Regions from separate parts of the Homo sapiens genome. Here regions 1 and 3 are each linked to region 2. Evidence: promoter capture Hi-C in 16 types of primary human blood cells and fetal thymus (Javierre and others, 2016). All regions are on one chromosome and are shown on one strand. Each heading gives the region's core, a stretch centred on a gene start or on the middle of the fragment in contact. The rest is flanking DNA. Distances are from core to core; before and after follow the strand shown. Region 1 overlaps WDFY4 (WDFY family member 4). Region 2 holds the start of C10orf71-AS1 (C10orf71 antisense RNA 1). Region 3 has its middle 6.1 kb from the start of MIR4294.

The links. Contacts are between HindIII fragments. The CHiCAGO score rates a contact against its expected background, and 5 or more counts as called.
Region 1: a fragment that was not itself captured here is called in contact with the fragment with the promoter of C10orf71-AS1 in region 2 in 3 of 17 cell types (M1 macrophages, M0 macrophages and total B cells); the score reaches 5.9 in M1 macrophages.
Region 3: a contact is called between a fragment that was not itself captured here and the fragment with the promoter of C10orf71-AS1 in region 2, in 2 of 17 cell types (M2 macrophages and M0 macrophages). The highest score is 5.7, in M2 macrophages.

Annotation. Positions count from the first base shown.
Region 1 is chr10:48,973,619-48,977,524 of GRCh38, reverse strand. It overlaps WDFY4 (WDFY family member 4), which reads right to left. Exons shown (of 62, transcript NM_001394531.1): 58 at 2,484-2,663; 59 at 546-728. LOC105378298 (a long non-coding RNA gene) reads left to right here. Exons shown (of 4, transcript XR_007062370.1): 4 at 425-546. Among named protein-coding and RNA genes, the nearest start is that of MIR4294, 10 kb to the left of the region's middle. The HindIII fragment of the contact is 939 bases long and covers 1,178-2,116 here.
Region 2 is chr10:49,296,837-49,300,519 of GRCh38, reverse strand. It overlaps C10orf71-AS1 (C10orf71 antisense RNA 1), which reads left to right and starts at 1,627. Exons shown (of 2, transcript NR_108038.1): 1 at 1,627-1,830. C10orf71 (chromosome 10 open reading frame 71) reads right to left here and starts at 1,350. Exons shown (of 3, transcript NM_001135196.2): 1 at 1,287-1,350. RefSeq lists a silencer at 3,297-3,474. The HindIII fragment of the contact is 569 bases long and covers 1,284-1,852 here.
Region 3 is chr10:48,989,719-48,993,668 of GRCh38, reverse strand. No RefSeq gene overlaps it. Among named protein-coding and RNA genes, the nearest start is that of MIR4294, 6.1 kb to the right of the region's middle. The HindIII fragment of the contact is 3,569 bases long and covers 1-3,356 here.

The DNA of each region.
Region 1 (3,906 bases), core at 398-2,897, 320 kb after region 2:
GCCTAGGTACCTCAGCCTGCATGGATGGATGGATGGATGGATACATGGAGGGATACATGGATGGATGGATGGATGGATGGATGGATGGATGGATGGATGAGTGGATGGGTGGATAGAGAGATGGATGGGTGGATGGATGGGTGGGTAGATGAGTAGAGAGATAAATGGGTAGGTGGGTAGATAAATTAGTGGATGGGTGGGCAAGTTTGGTTTGAATGGATGACGCAAATATCTCCTTTTAGCATTGGGATATAATCTTTTGCATTTAACCATTCAACTTTTATATGTTGTAACAGTATTTATTTTAGTGTGTGTCTGTGTGTGTGTGCATGTGTGTGTCTGTGTGTGTAATACTATATATATAATTTTATTTATTTACTTTTTCCCTGCAAAGAGCCTTGTCTTTTCCCTTCCTTTGCTGTAGGTACCCGTTCTGGAATGGTCTCAAATGCAACCTGCAGGTTTGGCCCCCTGGAGGAAGTGAGAAGAATGGAGATGAACACGTTTCTTGTGTCATGTCCTCATTCTGCCCAAGACACACCTACCCGGACCATGCCGTCTTGACTCCCGGTGATGATGATCTGGCTTGTGTCCCATGCTGGGCCCTCCATCAGGCAGCAGCAGGTTATGGCTCCTTCTGGGCCCCAGGCTGTGGTGATGCTGGCCAGGGGCTGTCCATTGACATTCCACAGGGACAAGTGTGCTCCCGCACAGGAGACAATGGTGCCCTGTGCAGTGAGAGCTGGCATCACTCTAAGCTGGAGTCACTGCCTGCCCATCAGCCACTTGCTCAGCTACCCAGTTGGTACACCCAAGTACTCTCAATCTGTCATGCTCTGAAGACCCCCAAGGTACCCCAAAACTTCTTTCCAGCTGACTTACAGGTCTGCTGTGTTTTCACACAGTTGTAAATTCTTGGTTCTTTTCATACTGCAGTCATGTGCTTAGATACTTCTTTCCTGGCAGAAGGCACCTGGCTCACCCTCAGGCTCCTCCCAGATCCCACTCCCCAACCACACCCTGACTGCCACAGAAGATCCAGCCTGAAGGGTAGCCCTGGCTTTGGACACACAGCTTACACCTGGTAGGTCAGCCCTGCCCCATAAAGAAGTTTTGGATGCCACCTGGTGGATGGCAGGGTACAGAAGTTCCAATGACTGCATGTGGCTCATAAGCTTGTGCAATGTCCCTGAAGAGGGAATTTCTAAGGAGAAATTTCCCCATTGTATCTCCTGATATGCTCACATTTGAGTCTTTCCTCCTCAAGTCCTGTTTATTCTATAGTGGCCACTGTCACCAAGGTCCTGGGGCCATCCCTTTGAGCCTTGCCCTAATCACAGAAGGGATGTAGGGTGCTCAGTGCCCCTCCACATCTCACTGGGCTGGGATCCATTAGAAGTTCCTGAATTGTTAGGGATGGTCTGTCTGAGGCCAGAGGCCATGTCTGATACCTCTCTGCCCCACAACCAGCAAGCACAGACTGAAATCAGTTGGCTGCAGGACAACTTGTCCTGGTGCCAGGCTTCTCTGGGGTCTAGGGACACAATTCCTGATGGGTTTTATATTCTCCCAGGTGAAGGCTTCAATGCCTTCTATACATCAACCCATCCATCCATTCACCCACCATCTACCAATCCATTATCCATTTCATCCATCTTTCCATCCACCTATTCATCCATTTATCTGCTCATTTATCCATCCATCCATCCATTCATTTATCTATCTACCCATCCACTCATCTATCCACCCGTCCATCCATCTATCCATTCATCCACCCATGCATCCACTCATCTACCCATCCATCCACCCATCCATTCACACTCCATCTACTCATCTAACATTGAATCCAGTTTTGAATTCAAGCCTACCTGGAGCACCACTTTCAGCAAAAATTGGAACCAGGAAGCTCCTATATCATCCCTCCTCTTTTGAGCCCTCTGCCCATTTTATTTATGCCCTGGGCCCCTTAGGTTTTCTGTGAGCAGATGCAGAAACCTCTGCATCCTCAGGGAACCCCATATCCCATGACAGGGCTTCAGTCTGGAAGAAATTTCACACCGGTAAGTCGATCTCCCTGGTCTTTGTTAGCCAGTATGGAAGGAGAGGCAGAGAAGCTTGCACTGCCATGAAGACCAAACCTGCCAAGTCAACACTGATTTGAAGGTAAAGACCTAAATGAGTCAGCCACATCCAACAAAACCCTCCCTAAAAGCCAATTTTTCAGCTGCAGCCCCCTGGTGCCCGCAGCAAAGCAGACACTTCCCACTGTCCCCAACACCAGAGGGAGGAAAGTAAAGAAGCGGACATTGAAGCTAGACCTGGGTGCTACAAGTGAGATCTACAGCGACTGTTCCACACAATTGGGGGCCCTCTCAGCATTCTGGGGTGGCTAGAGTCTCTGTGTCTCTGGGCTTTCTCCTGAGTGTTGTACCCCATGCTACTGCGAAGGTGAGGACACGGACACTGAGAAACAGGAGACTTACTGAGACGTCACTGATGGTGATGGCTGAGATGCCTTCCCGATGGGCGGGCAGGCGGGTCACGTGGGTGAGGTGGTCCAGATCCCACAGGATACAGGTGCAGTCCTGGGAGCCGCTCACCAGGAGGCTGAAGGTGACTGACGCTGCCAGGCACGTGACAGCCTGTGTGTGTCCATACAAGGCCTGGGGACAGAGACTCACAGGTTAGGAGAGGGACCCTCAATTCAGCTACTTTTGGGAATTCTTCACCCTCCCTATAAAGCTGGGTGCTGGATGAGGAAATGGAGATTCTGAGTGAGTCAGTGATTCCCAAGTCTGTTGTCTGTGCAGCTGGGGGTGTGTGCATGTGCGTGTCCATGACTAGCCTCTCCATTTCATTCATCTCCAGGGGTGGAGGCTCTGCTGGGGAGAAACCATTTTTTTACTTATAACCCAACCAGAGGCTAGCCACACCTGGATGTTTTGTGCTGCCCTACATCTATCTTGAACCCGGGAGCAGTTCATGTCATGAGTTGTTTTTTTTTTTTTTTTTTTTTTTTTTTGAGACGGAGTCTTGCTCTGTTGCCTAGGCTGGAGTGCAATGGCATGATCTCAGTTCACTGCAGCCTTTGCTTCCCAGGTACAGCAATTCTTTTGCATCAGCCTCCCAAGTAGCTGGGATTACAGGTGCCTGCCACCATGCCTGGCGAATGTTTTTTATTTTTAGTGGAGATGGGGTTTCACCAAGTTAGCCAGGCTGGTCTTGAACTCCTGACCTCAAGTGATCCACCTGCCTTGGCCTCCCAAAGTGCTGGGTTTACAGGTGTGAGCCATCACACCTGGCCAGTTCATGTTACGATTAACATACAAAGCACTGTTGGCAAACTGTGGTGCCCACACCAGCAGGCTCAGTAGCAGCAAGTAGCCTCTTAGAATGCAAATTCTTGGGTTCCACTCCAAATCTCCTGAATCAGAAACGCTGGGGATGGGGCCCTGAAGTCTGAATTTTCACAAGCCCTCAGGGGATTCTCACATGTGCCCAACTTTGAGAGCCATCTCGGTAAGGGAACCTCAGAGGCACGTGCACTCTTGAACTAAACTGGGAAGAAGAAAAGGGGAGGTCACATGGTCATCAAAAAGATGGGGCTTTTCGAGTCTGATAGGTCTGGATTCATAGCCACTGGGACACTTAGACGTCCTTGGTCTTGGTCCTCAGGTTTGGCTTGTGTGGGGCCTGGTCTGACTCATGGATGGCTGTGTGTCCAGATCTGGCTGGAGGCCTTCTTCTCTGTGGACACTTCCCCAAGGGGCCAAAGTGGCCCACCACACATGCTGGTACCCCCTGGCCAACTGCTGCAGGCAATGGTGTGGATTCCATCACCAGCACTCCAGAGGCTGCAGGTCCCAGAGGCTCTGATCTGAGGTCCTCTGCTCACATGTGCTTGCC
Region 2 (3,683 bases), core at 378-2,877:
TGGCTTACAAACTATTCTAACAGCAAGAACTTTCACTGCTTTTTTTTTTTTTTTTTTTGTATTAAATTGACCCATCTCAAGATGTGTTCTTGTAACACAGTGGTCAGCAAACTTTTTCTGTAAAGGGCCACATTGTAAGCGTTTTCAGTTTTGCAGGCCATATGGTTTCTGCTGATATAGTGTAGAAGCAGCTTTAGACAATATGCAAATGAATGAAGGTGGCTGTGTGCCAATACAACTTTATTTACAAAACCAGATGCTCAGACCACAGACCAGAGTTACCAGCCACTACTGCAAAGGGAACTCAAATGCTGGAAAACAGGACCTCATTTACTACACACATCTGTTTAATCTGCTTCCCAGGTTCCTATACTTAGGGAGCTACCTGAAAGGCCTACACAATGATTTTTCTTAAGGCTATCTAGCTTTCCACACACATTGACCACTGCCGTTCTCAATGTTCAATTCTTCTCCACCAGAAAATAAAAGAGGTAATTTTAGACTCAGTCAAGCATACCCTGTGGGAGTCTGGTGGGGGCCCTCCCAGGGTGTGTAAGAACAGGCAGCCTGTGGCGGGCTTTGTTTTGGGGACACACATGCTCGCAGAGCCCACAGGCCAGAACGTCTCAGTCACCAGTTTTTCTCTTTGTTACAGCTGGTGTGACCCTGCCTGGCCCAGCGCTGGGGGAGCTAAGAAAGCCAGCCTCCCTCAGCCCTGAATGCTGAAAACCTGGGACCATGGGGTCACCCATTTGACAGCGCAGTGGCCTGGGCACATCTGTGCACTCAGCCATGTGGGAGCAGAGATCCCTGACAGATGACACCTAAGGACAAAGTCACACATGTACACGGTTCCGGGTACGTGGTCCCCGAGGCCCATCCAGCACACCAAGAACCTTAGCCCCAACACCAATGGGCTCCCGGCACACACATACCACCCTGCACAGCACCCTGGCACCGAACTACTTCCCCAGCACAGCATCGGCCCAGCGGGAACATCCCTCCCGCCATGAACTTGAGCCTCCCTGCCCACGCTAAGGAGCCAGACAAGTGTCTGGGCTGTACCTTCCGCTCTCTGCGTGTCCAGCTGCTCAGGCCTCCTCGGGAATGGGAGAGAAACCCGGCTCTGCCCAGCAGCCAAGACTTCTTTCCTCTTTATCCAGGCTGCCCAAAGGTGATAGGAGAGTGGATTCAGGACCCAAGCCTCCTCTAGCTCACAAACCTACCCACCTGAGGAAGATCAGTGACCAGAAGCCGGCCAGACACGGGAAGTCCGCGAAGCTTACCTAAATAGAGACCCAGCCGGGGGAAACCAAATGGTGTTCTTGGTGGGGAAGAGGCAAACAGTCCGCACTGCAACACCCGCGTGGTGTCAAGTAACAGTCAGATTAAACAAACAGCCTCAGCTGCTATTTTTACTTCCAAATCAGCCACGAGTAACAGATCACTTGGGGAGTGAGAAATTGCTTGCCGCTTAGCCGGACCCTAACCACGATTCCAACTTCAATCCAGAATGATTGCTAAAGCTATTCCAGCACCTAGAGTCAAATAAAAATATCCCGAGGTGGGAAGGAAAACATTTGTTTAGGGAAACATTAAAAACAGGAGAGTGTGTGCCTTGGAGCCAGAGCCCAGAGCCCTGCTGATGTCCCGGGGCAGAAATAGCCCGTTTCATCATCGGCTCTGGACGACCGCCGCCCGCATTCCTCGAGTAAGGAGCCGTCCTCTGCTGTGCTTTTGGAGCAGAATAATCTGCAGCTAGGGGAAGGCCAGGCTGGGTCTCAGGGTGAGAGTTACAGAAGGATATGAAATAATCGGGGAAGAGGCAAGGTAAGTGTCCACTTGGTAAGCTTGGCTACAGCAAGCCCGGTTGTTTGCAAAGTCCAAGCACCAGTGGACAAGTCCCGTTCTGCCAGGCTCCCCTCTCCACCTCTGGGAAGGGCTGGCCTCCCTTCAACCCTGAGGTGGGCTCATGCCTGCCTTCCCAATGGCTGCTTTCTGTCTCAGGCTGGGGTCACCTGCTCCCCAAACTGCCCACAGATCCCCCAACTTTTTCCACTGGCTTTTCCTTGGCTTGTGCCATGCCAGCTCCCAGAGTGCCTTCCTTACTCTCCCAAGCTGGCCCTAGGATAGTCTGCTTGCTACCAGGATTTAATGCAAGAGTGGGTTTTTTTCCCCCTTTCTCTCCAAGGTTCTTTTTTATGCTTCCCTGACTGTGGCCTGAGAAAGCGGAGATGACTGGCCCCCGCTGGGTGTCCTGCTCTGTGCAGCGCTCAAAGCCTCTGCAAGTTTGCAGTGTGCTGTGTCTTTGGGTCTATTTGTAGACTGTCCCTTCTGCCCCTGTGGGCTCTTCAAGGGCAGCAACCTGTGTCCCAGCCCCAAGCTGGGGCCTGGCACCACCTCCAGCCTTGAACCGGCTGACAGCCAGGGCCACAGGGACCCAGGTCTATGTACTTTTGTCTAAACCAAGTCACAAAGAACAGCTCCTCCTTGCCCTGCAGACTAAGGTGTGAGATTCCAACCAGCAGGAGCATTCAGACCCGCCTCCTCCTGGGAGCCTCAAGACTTGCCTTTTGCCCTGAGAGCTTCAGAACCTCGCTGTGGGGATGATTACTTGCTGCTCCGCACTCAGAGATGCTTTGAGGGAGGCCCAAAGTGAACCCCTCAATTTTACCCACCCACCTCCCTACCTCCCCATTTGCCAAAACAAACGCATGCCAAAAGGTCAGACAAAAGCCATCAACTTGAGATGGGAGCCAACATTTAAAAAGTACACAGGATTTTGAGCCCTGGCTCCATTATTTCCTGGTCAGTTGACATGTCACATACTTACCCTTCCTGAGCCTCAGTTTACCCATCTCTAAAGTGGAGAGAATGCCTGTGCTCTGTGGGATTCAGGGTCAGGGGAGCTCATGTACATGAATATGCTCGTCTATTGCAAAGCTTCCCAAAATGTTAGTCATTTATTTGTTATTTTTTCCCATGATTTTTGCTACACCTCAACCATCTGTATCAACATTTACTTACTATTTTCCTTTAAAGAAAATTTAAATTGACTTGCTTTTTTTCTTGAACAGAAGAACTTTATGGAAAACAACAATACTTAATAGATCATGGATTTGACATATTTGTTAATTTCCCTCCCTCCCAGTACACATTGAAACAAATTTACAGTCAGTTCATATGTCATCTGTTTGACCCAAATCATTTTGTTCCAGATGTTAGAAAATGTTGCATTACTAAACCTCATTTTATGGAGGAGTTTGCTTTGGGGTGTGAGTAACATGAGCTGAAAGCTTCGGCAGGGCCGCTGGTCTTCCTAATTTGCTTTCCTCCCCTCCTCAGCACCTTCCTTCCCCAGCTTACGTTTCATTCTTCACAGGTGGAGAGCATGACCTCATGTCTTGTTTAGGATCCTAGAAACAGCAAGCTTTGCTCTGCAGCAGGAGCGAATGGTGTTTGCTTGAAGTGGCTGATTGAGGAAAGAGCACCGTGGGATGGCTGGGGAATGTTCCGGGGGCCGGGCACTGGCGGGTAGCTTTGTCAATGACATCAGCAGGAGGGGTAGGGAGAGAATAATAAAACACAGTTGACCCAGCAAGAGCCTGTCCTAGGAGCAGGCAGCCCTCAGAGCTTGGCTGGAGGCTCCAACCAGCAAGCCTGAGCATAGCTGACACCTGCAG
Region 3 (3,950 bases), core at 323-2,822, 310 kb after region 2:
TGAACGTTTGACTATGGGTCATCAAGTCACCATGAGACCTGAACTACCTATCATGAACTAGGTGCTTTCTGATCCATCTAGCCATAAAGTGGGTCATGCACAGCAGCATTCCATCATCAAGTGGAAGTGGCATATACGTGAGCAGGCTCCAGTGGGTCTTGAAGGCACAAGTAAGTTACATGAGGAAGTGGCTCAAATGCCCATGGTCTCCACTCCTGCTACCTTGCCTTCTCTTCCCCAGCCTGCACCGATGGCCTCATGGGTAGTTCCCTATGATCAGATGACAGAAGGAGGAAGAGAACCATCACAGATGGTTCTGCACAATATGCAGGCACCACCCGAAAATGGACAGCTGCAGCATTATAGCCCCTTTCTAGGACATCCCTGAAGGACAGCGGTGAAAGGAAATCTTCCCAGTGGGCAGAACTTTGAGCAGTGCACCTGGTTGTGCACTTTGCATGGAAGGAGAAATGGCCAGATGTGCGATTATATACTGATTCATCGGCTGTAGCCAATGGCTTGGCTTGATGGTCAGGGACTTGAAAGAAGCATGATTGGAAAAATGGTGACAAAGAAATTTGGGAAAGAGGTATGTGGACAGACCTCTCGGAGTAGTCAAAAACCATGAAGATGCTTGTATCCCATGTGAGCACTCACCAACGGGTGAACTCAGCAGAGGAGGATTTTAATAATCAAGTGGATAGGATGACCCATTCTGTTTCTGTGGATGCCACTCAGCCTCTTTCCCCAGCCACCCCTGTCATCGCCCAATGGGCCCATGAACAAAGTGGCCATGGTGGCCAGGATGGAGGTTATGCATGGACTCAGCAACATGGACTTCCACTCACCAAGGCTGACCTGGCTATGGCCACTGCTGAGTGCCCAATTTGCCAGTAGCAGAGACCAACATTGAGCCCTCTATATGGCACCATTCTTCAGGATGATTAGTCAGCTACCTGGTGGCAGGTTGATTATATTGGACCTCTTCCATCATGGAAAGGGCAGAGATTTGTCCTCACTGAAATAGACACTTACTCTGGATATGGGTTTGCCTATCCTGTATGCAATGCTTCTGCCAAGACTACCATCCACGGACTCACAGAGTGCCTTATTCACCATCAAGGTATTCCACACAGCATTGCCTCTGACCAAAGCACTCACTTTGTGGCTAAAGAAGTGCAGCAGTGGGCTCATGCTCGTGGAATTCACTGGTCTTACCACGTTCTCCATCATCCTGAAGCAGCTGGATTGATAGAACGGTAAAAATGGACTTTTGAAGTCACAATTACAATGCCAGCTAGGTGACAATACTTTGCAGGGCTGGGACAAGGTTCTCTAGAAGGCCATGTATGCTCTGAATCAGTGTCCAATATATGGCACTATTTCTCTTATAGCCAGGATTCATAGGCCCAAGAATCAGGGGGTGGAAATGGAAGTGGCACCGCTCACCATCACCCCTAGTGATCCACTAACAAAATTTTTCCTTCCTGTTCCCATGACATTACATTCTGGTGGCCTAGCGGTCTTAGTTCCTGAGAGAGGAACACTGCCAACAGGAAACACAACAACAATTCCATTAAACTGAAAGTTAAGATTGTACCTGGACACTTTGGGCTCCTTCAACAGGCTAAGAAGGGAGTTACAATGTTGACTGGGGTGATTGACCCGGACTATCAAGATGAAATCAGTCTGCTACACCATAACAGAGGTAAGGAAGAGTATGCATAACAGAGGTAAGGAAGAATACAGGAGATCCACTTGGGTGTCTCCTAGTATTACCATGCGCTGTGATTAAGATCAATGGGAAACTACAACAGCCCAATTCAGGCAGGACTACAAATGACCCAGACCCCTCAGGAGTGAAGGTTTGGGTCACTCTACCAGGAAAAAAACCACGACCTGTTGAGGTGCTTGCTGAAGGCAGAGGGAATCCAGAATGGGTAGTTGAAGAAGGTAGTCATAGATACCAGCTACAACTACATGACCAGCTGCAGAAACGAGGACTGTACCTGTCATGAATGTTTCCTCCTTCTTTCGTTAAAAACAGGTTTGTGCATGTATACACTTGTACTAAGAAAATATCTTCATTTTATTTCCTTTTTCTTTAACATGTGACATAAGATTTATTGACTTCATGTCAGCATTTAAGTGTTGCTAACTTCAGGTAATAGTATTTGGGTTGGGGATTGGTGTGTTTCCGGTTGTACAAAGGATAGTTTTATTAAGTTAGGTGTAATTATGACCTTATTGTTTTCTTTATTTGAAGATTATGTATGATATCAGGAGATGTGTGTGGGTTCAAGTTGACAAGGGGTGGCCTTGTGATGGTTAATAATGAGTGTCAACTTAATTGGATTGAAAAAAGTATTGATTCTGGGTGTGTCTGTGAGGGTGTTGCCAAAGGAGATTAATATTTGAGTCAGTGGGGTGGGGAAGGCAGACCCACCCTTAATCTGGTGGGCACAATCTAATCAGCTGCCAGAAAATATAAAGCAGGCAGAAAAACGTGAAAGGTGAGACTGGCCTAGCCTTCAGCCTACATCTGTCTCCCATGCTGGATGCTTCCTGCCTTCAAACATTAGACCCCAAATTCTTCAGTTTTGGGACTCAGACTGGCTCACCTTGCACCTCAGCTTTTAGACAGCCTATTGTGGGACTTTGTGATCATGTAAGTTAATACTTAATAAACTCCCCTTTATATATATATACACACACACATATATGTATGTATGTGTGTGTATAGATGCATATATGTATGTATATGTATACATATAGGTAGGTGTGTATATATATACATGTATGTATATATGTATGCATATATATGTATGTGTGTGTGTGTGTGTGTGTGTGTGTGTGTGTGTGTGTGTGTATATATATATATATATATATATATATATATATATATATATATATATCCTATTAGTTCTGCCCCTTTAAAGAACCCTGAGTAATACAGTGGCTTTCAATGACCTGGAGATCTTAAGTCTGACAAAGTTCAATTCATCATTTTTTTTTCTTAATGGGTGATTTAAATAACTCCAGTTTACAAAGAAGTTTTCCTAGGTTTTCTTCTAGAAATTTTATAATTTTAAGTTTCACTTTTAGGTCTAAAATTTATTTAAAATTAATTTTTCTTGATGGCATGAGGTGTTGGTCACAGTTCTGTTTTTTTCATTGCACATGGATCCTCACTGTTCCAACGCTGTCTGATGAAAGGGCTCTTTCTTCCACTGTATTTCCTTGGCACATTTTTCAAAGCCAGTTGACCACACATGGGTCTGTTTCTGGACTCCATTCTGTTCCATTGATTTCTCTGTCCTCAATGTCAAAAGCACACTGTCTTTATTACTGAAGCTTTCTAATAAGTTGAAATCACATAATGTAAATCCTCCAACTTTGTTCTTCATTCAATGTTTTTAGGCTCTAACTTATTCTAGATCCTTTCATTTTCATATGAATTTCAGAATTAGTTTGTCAGTTTCTACAAAAAAGCCCATTGTAATTTTCACTGGGGTTAGATAGAATCTGTAGCTCAATTTGGGGAGAACTGACATCTCAATAGTATTGGGTCTCTTAATCTATGGCTACGGTGTAGCTCTCCATTTATTTAGGTCTTTGATTTCCCTCAACAATGTTTTTGTAGTTTTCAGATTATATGTATTTTAGTCATATTAGTCCTAAGTGGTTCATATTTCTGATGTGTTTCTAAGTGGTATTGAGATTTTAGTTTCAATTTCTGACAGTTTTTTGGGGCTGAGATGTCCTGAGAGCTTAGACGTGAGGCATGAGGGAGGGGCATACTCAGAGATGTCTCAGAGGTTTTCGGCCTGAGCAACTGGTAGAAAGATATTCCCTTCCTGATGTTGGCCACACAGATACTGGACATACATGATCTTATAATAATGGTTATGATAACTTTCATTGTCATTATTGCATAACTGAGCACGTCC